Linked DNA regions of Homo sapiens: region 1 is linked to region 2. Evidence: promoter capture Hi-C in 16 types of primary human blood cells and fetal thymus (Javierre and others, 2016). All regions are on one chromosome and are shown on one strand. The core of a region is centred on a gene start or on the middle of the fragment in contact, and the rest is flanking DNA. Distances in the headings are between cores, read along the strand shown.

Region 1 (2,949 bases), core at 152-2,651, 620 kb before region 2:
GGCTAACTGGAGGAGGGGGTCTTTGGACCTGTAGTCTATGGATCTGTGTGATACCGCTCCGAGAAACTGAAGGGCCTCTTGGAAAGAATCAGGGGCGGCCGCGGCTATCTCCTGGCAGATACCACAGGATGAGAAGCGGGGAGATGTCAGGCTGGTTACAGGCTTCTCCTAGGACATACCACAAGGGGAGGAGGAGGAGGAGAAATCATGGTTATGCAAGCCCTCCTAGGATATGCCATGAGGTGGGAAAAAGGGAGAACTCAGAGTGCTGGGTTCCCCTCCTGCTGTGCCTGTGGGGCTTGGATGCGAGGTTTGAATGCTGCAGCAATTTACCTTATCTCCCACTCCATCTACCCCAGCTAAAAAGGGACTACGTAGTACCAATACTAATAATTTTTAATGTGTCCTTAGTCCAATGCAATATGTCAATAAAAATCTTTAGGAAACTTTATTATTTTTATTTCCTCATGAAGTAAAATATATGTGGTCATGGTGCCCTTACTTTGGAAATGTAGCTTTAATACAAGGCTCTGCTTCTACCCTTCAACCAGTTTGCTGCTCCATATCACCTCCAATGTGTAAATTCTGGAGATGCCCCTGCCCTCTGGGAGATGTCACTGGAGCAGAAGGGGAAGAAGTCGTGCAGTCCTTCACCTAAGAATGCCTATTCATCCTTCAAAATCAAGTTCAAATATCTCCTCCTCCAGAGAATCCTGACAGAGCTAGAAGCCTGTGTGCCCTCCTGAAAGCCTTTCTGAATCCTCAGGTGAAAAAAATATTTTGAGAGGACCTGGTGTAGGCTGAAGTGTGGACTTGCTGGGGGCTCTCAATCCAGTCTTATCCCCTCTGGCCCTCGGTTTAACAATCTCGAAGGTTAGAGGTGTCCTAGTCCAATTAGCCTCAAACTAATTTTTAGTCTGACAGATCCAGCAATCAATAAGGGAGACTGCACACCAGGGGCACCATGGGCAGCTCACTAAGCAAAGGAAAAGATAGAGTTCTTATAGGATTTTGAGGAATAGTGGAGTTCAGATGAAATTAAATGAAGCAGTGTTTTAGTGGGCTCAAAGGAAAGCAGGGCTGTATGTAAAGGGTAATTGTCAGGTCTGGACTGTGAAGTGAACCCAGAGTGCTGTTTCCTTGGAAACAATTTAGATGTAGAATTTTGTGTCCCCAGATAACTCTTGCCTAAAGCTTTGCACCTGGGTTGAAAATTGAATCTTGCTTCTCTGTCTGGAAGTGACTTAGAATCTCCCATGAGAATCAGATGTTTCCCTCTTACTGATATCATTTCAAACAGCAAAGTTTCTGATAGTCTATGATTGTAGAGAACAAAGTTTCTCATTGACCAAGAAAGCAATAGGCACTTAAAGTAGGGGTTCTTTATGGCATTACAACTGCAGCCTGTCCTTAGAAGAAATAATGTTTCCTGTGAATTTTGCATTTGGCTTTATATGTGTCTGTTCTTCCATCCTGATGAATAGCAAGGCAGATTTTTATAGTCCGATTTTCATTTTAATTTTTTTAGAGAGTTGGTATCTTTGTCCATTTTCTGCTACTGTAACAGAATATCACAGATTGGGTAATTTATAAAGAAAATAAGCTTATTTGGCTCATAGTTCTGGAGATTGGGAAGTCCAACTTGGTGCCAGCATCTGGTGAGGGCCTTATTGCTGCATTATTCCATGGCAGAGGACAAGAGGGCAAGCAAGTGTATGAACAAAGAGAAAGCACAAGGGACTGGGCTCACTTTATAACAACCCACTCTTGAGGTGACTAACCCATTCCCTCAGTGACAGCATTAATCAGTTTATGAGAATGGAGCCTCCATGACCTATTCACTTTTTAAAGGCCCCACCTCCTAATACTGTTACAATGGCAATTTCAATATGAGTTTCAGAGGAGACAAACATTTGAACCATAGCAGTTGAACTTTGATTATCCCAGCTTGTCATTCTGCCCCTGCATCCCTGGTCTGGGCAAATGTTTGTTGAATGAATAAATGAAAGAAGAATGGAATCAGTGGAAGCATATTTGGCATGCATACACTTCTAATAGAGTGCCAAGAATCACTGTTAGTGTTCTTGGATGTCATAATAGTACCAAAAAAAAAAAAAAAAGAAAGTTCTGTTAGACCACTTCAGAGAAGAAGGAGATATAGAGCCAGCAAACATATAAAGAGATGTTCAAAGTCATTTGTGATAAGGGAAATACAAATCAAGACATGATAAAAATGACATTTTATACCCATTCAAATTGCAAAAACATAAAAGTCTGACAATACCAAGAGTTGGAGAGTATGTGGGCCAACAGGATCTTTTTGCCCTGTTGAAGGAATGTAAATCAGTGCAACCACTTTAGAAAATATTTTTGCATTTTCTCCTACAGTGAATATATACATACCTTAACAATCCAGTGAGTCCACTCTCATGAATGTAACCAAGAGAAACACTTGCACAAGAAACCTAGGATATGCATGTTTCTTAGTCTGTTTTCTGTTGCTTACAACAGAATACCTGAAACTGGGTAATTTCTAAAGAAAAGGAATTTATTTCTTACAGTTACGGAGGCTGAGAAGTCCAAGGTTGAAGGGCAATAACTGGTGAGGGCCTTCTTTCTGGTAGGGACTTTCTGCAGAGTCCCAAGGTAGCACAGGGTATCACACAGTGAAGGGGCTGAGCATGCTAGCTGAGGTCGCTCCTCCTTTTTTTTTTGAGACGGATTCTTTCTCTGTCGCCCAGGCTAGAGTCCAGTGGTGCGATCTCGGCTGCCTGCAACCTCTGCCTCCCGGGTTCAAGCGATTCTCCTGCCTCAGCCTCCTGATTATAGGCGCGCGCCACCACGCCCAGCTAATTTTTGTATTTTTAGTAGAGACAGGGTTTCACCATGTTGGTCAGGCTGGTCTCGAACTCCTGACCTTGTGCTGGGATTACAGGCATGAGCCATTGC
Region 2 (2,916 bases), core at 396-2,895:
TTACACACTAGATCCCCTCCGCAGCCCTACCCCCGAGTAGCACCCCCTGGAACCTCAACATACTCTGGTCCTCCGCGGACACAAGGGCACAATCTTCACAAGGTTCTGATGCTTATTAGCATATTCCAGACTTCACACAGCTGACTCTCGAAATGGCACACATTGAAGTGCCTCTATGTCTCTAAACCCACATTAGCAACCACCAGTACTTCTATTACCCTGCTCCTTCCTAGTGTGCCCTCGAGACTCACATTCCCTGTGTCCATGGACACACTCACACCTCACATCACCTTTACCCTTCGTCCACTAAGCCTCTGACAGTGCTAAGACACTTCCCCACCACTCCTTCCTGGGCCCAGACAGACACGCAATTCTCATCTCCTTTAGGCCAGGCTCAGGTATTCCACAGTCCTTCCTCCGTTAGATACCCTCAGGTCCTTCCTCCACTCTGCCCTCATTAGCATATACTGGGTCCCAAACTACCTAGACCTTCGAGGCCACAGGCATACACCCTCTACAGCCATGACCCCCACTGGCGCACACACCACACTCGAGTCCTTCAGCTACCTGCCCTCCACAAGCACACACTGCATTCTCACACACTGCAGGCCCCACGGACAGACACGCAGTATTAACACCATCCAGGGCCTCATCGCCACGCACCAGGCCTCAGAGCCCTGACCCCACCAACACACGTTCTGGTACCTGTGCCACCCTGTCCCCCATGAACACACACCGGGCCTCTCTGCGGACATAATCCCTATGAGCATGTCTTAGAACTTCCTCGACACCCTACCCCCCGTTATACACCCTCGGGTCCCTCACCCGCTCCGCACCCCGCCCTCCTTCCACAAGCACACACGGGGCCTTGAACCTTACACGACTTATTGGCGTGAGGCTTACTGCCACATGCTCCGACCCCCATCAGCAACCCCCCCAAGTCTTTCACCCCATTGTCACCCATTTCCACACCCTTTGGTCCTTTGACTCCCCCAGGTCCCCATTAGCACCCACAGCACTACCCAACCCCAGCTCCCAGGACAGGCCCAGGGCGGGGCCAAGGTCAGGGAGGCCCCAAATGACCCCCCGCCCCGGTGCATTCTGGGAAATTCGCCGGGGGTGGGGGCACCTGCCAGCCCCGCAGCCCAGACCCCTGGGCACCGCCCGAGGTGGGTTCTGAAGGAGGAGGGGCAGCCTCCACGCCTCGGGGACGCGCTCACCGGCGGGGGCGCGCGAGCAACCTCAGAGCCGCGGGGCCGGCGCGGCGGCGCCTGGGGCGGCGGCCCGGGATGAGGCCGCGCGACCTCCTTCTCCTCCTGTTCGCCGCAGGCGCCCGTCCCAGTAGTCTTCAGCCATGGTTGCTGGGCCCGGGCCGCCGCCGGCTGAGGAGGAGGAGGCGGCGGCGGCGGCGGTGGCTGAGGCGGAGGCGGCGTCCCGCTCAGCCGGCCATGAGCTTGGCCGCTGCGGGCGATGCCCCCGGACTCGTTGGCGCCGGCTTGAATCCGAGTGCTCACGGCGGCTCGCGGCACAGAGCGGTCTGATCGCGGAGTGGCGGCGGATCCCAGGGCCGAACAGCCAACGGCCCAACCGCCGCGCGCGCCGCGCTCCGCGCATGCGCACGCAGGCGCTCGGAAGGGTGAAGTGGAAAGGAGGGGACTCACCTCGGACTGCATGTACCAAAGGACCCGTCCGCAGCGGGAGGGGACGCGGCCATCGCGAGCCCAGAGGAGGATGCGGCGCCAAGCCGGAGACGGCACCAGGGAGAACTGTGGAGGCTGTTTAGTACTCAGTTCCGATCTTGGCAGAAGTTTGCTAGCGCCTAGGTGAGCAGTGGCCAGTAACCTGGCGCGTCAATCACCACTCGTTCCCCCTACTCGGTCTCACTTGGTACATCCCCATGGTGGCAAACGGGACTTTTGCAAGGAGGAAAAAAGACAAATGAAGCACTCAGTTCTAGTCCCTTGAGGTGCTTGGGGAGGAAGGCATTTTAAAGGTTCGCGAGAAGATGACTTTTCGAGGAGAGGCAGCCTGAAGAGTTATTGGCCTTTACCACCTTAGCTAGGACGGCCTATCCCCGCCCAACTGCCCCCTCCACCGCTACCTCATTCCCGTAGTGAACGTGTGCAGCCCCGCCCTTTGAGGTTGTCGCCCAGCCAATCTGATTTGCTCTCTGTGGCGAGGCCGAGCAAGAATAAAGGGCGTGGCTGACTGAAGAGGCGTGATTTCGCTCTCTACCCGACTCCGCACGCCTCCGCCCAGGTTTCATAGGTTTTCACCGTCGGCGGGGGTGGGGTCTCCTTTTTGTTCTGAGCTCCTCCTTCGCTATAGGCCGAATATTCCGCAAGGTGATTGGTCATAATTGCGCTCAATCGAGTCTCGTCCCGCCTTTAGCCCGCCCTCCATCTCATACAGCGGGCCTCCCGGGGTGGAACCCAGGCTGAGAAAGAAGGAAAGAGGCGGATCCTTAGAGGCGCAGGAGCCGCTACTGCGCATGCTTGGAACTTCGAGCGGGGCGGAGCCTCTTTTCTGCCTCACACGAGTATTTGCATAGGCGCCGTGCGTTGGATTTTCCTGCCACCTCTCTTGCCCGGCACAGCCCCTCCCGTGCCTCCCCTCACTCTGAGGGTTTTTTGTTTTGTTTTGATGTCAGTCAACACAAGTAGAACACTCCGCGGTTTTATTTCCATTTTATTTATTGGGCGCATGTTGTGTGCCAAGTACTACCAGGCCGACCTAATCCTTCACTTCCTTCTGCCTGGAAAACCACACTATCCCCAAGTCCAGCTCAAAGGGCTGCAACCTCCAGCAGGCCTTCTGGCACATCCTTACACTACCCTGTTCCAAGGCAGCCTCCCCGCCTCTTCCGGGCTTCCCTTTATGGCAGCCTTGATCACAGCAGTTAGGATTTTCAGTAAG

Evidence for each region. The method cuts DNA at HindIII sites, captures the fragments that hold promoters and counts their contacts. A CHiCAGO score of 5 or more calls a contact.
Region 1: a contact is called between a fragment that was not itself captured here and the fragment with the promoter of CDK16 in region 2, in 1 of 17 cell types (fetal thymus). The highest score is 7.5, in fetal thymus.

The regions. Positions count from the first base shown.
Region 1 is chrX:47,833,579-47,836,527 of GRCh38, reverse strand. No RefSeq gene overlaps it. Among named protein-coding and RNA genes, the nearest start is that of ZNF81, 1.8 kb to the left of the region's middle. The HindIII fragment of the contact is 409 bases long and covers 1,197-1,605 here.
Region 2 is chrX:47,217,410-47,220,325 of GRCh38, reverse strand. CDK16 (cyclin dependent kinase 16) reads right to left here and starts at 1,645. Exons shown (of 16, transcript NM_006201.5): 1 at 1,221-1,645. It overlaps LOC105373194 (a long non-coding RNA gene), which reads left to right and starts at 1,676. Exons shown (of 3, transcript XR_949047.4): 1 at 1,676-1,823. RefSeq lists silencers at 1,132-1,201, 1,212-1,321, 1,342-1,501, 2,202-2,311 and enhancers at 919-1,558, 1,702-1,771, 1,892-2,011. The HindIII fragment of the contact is 18,663 bases long and covers 1-2,916 here.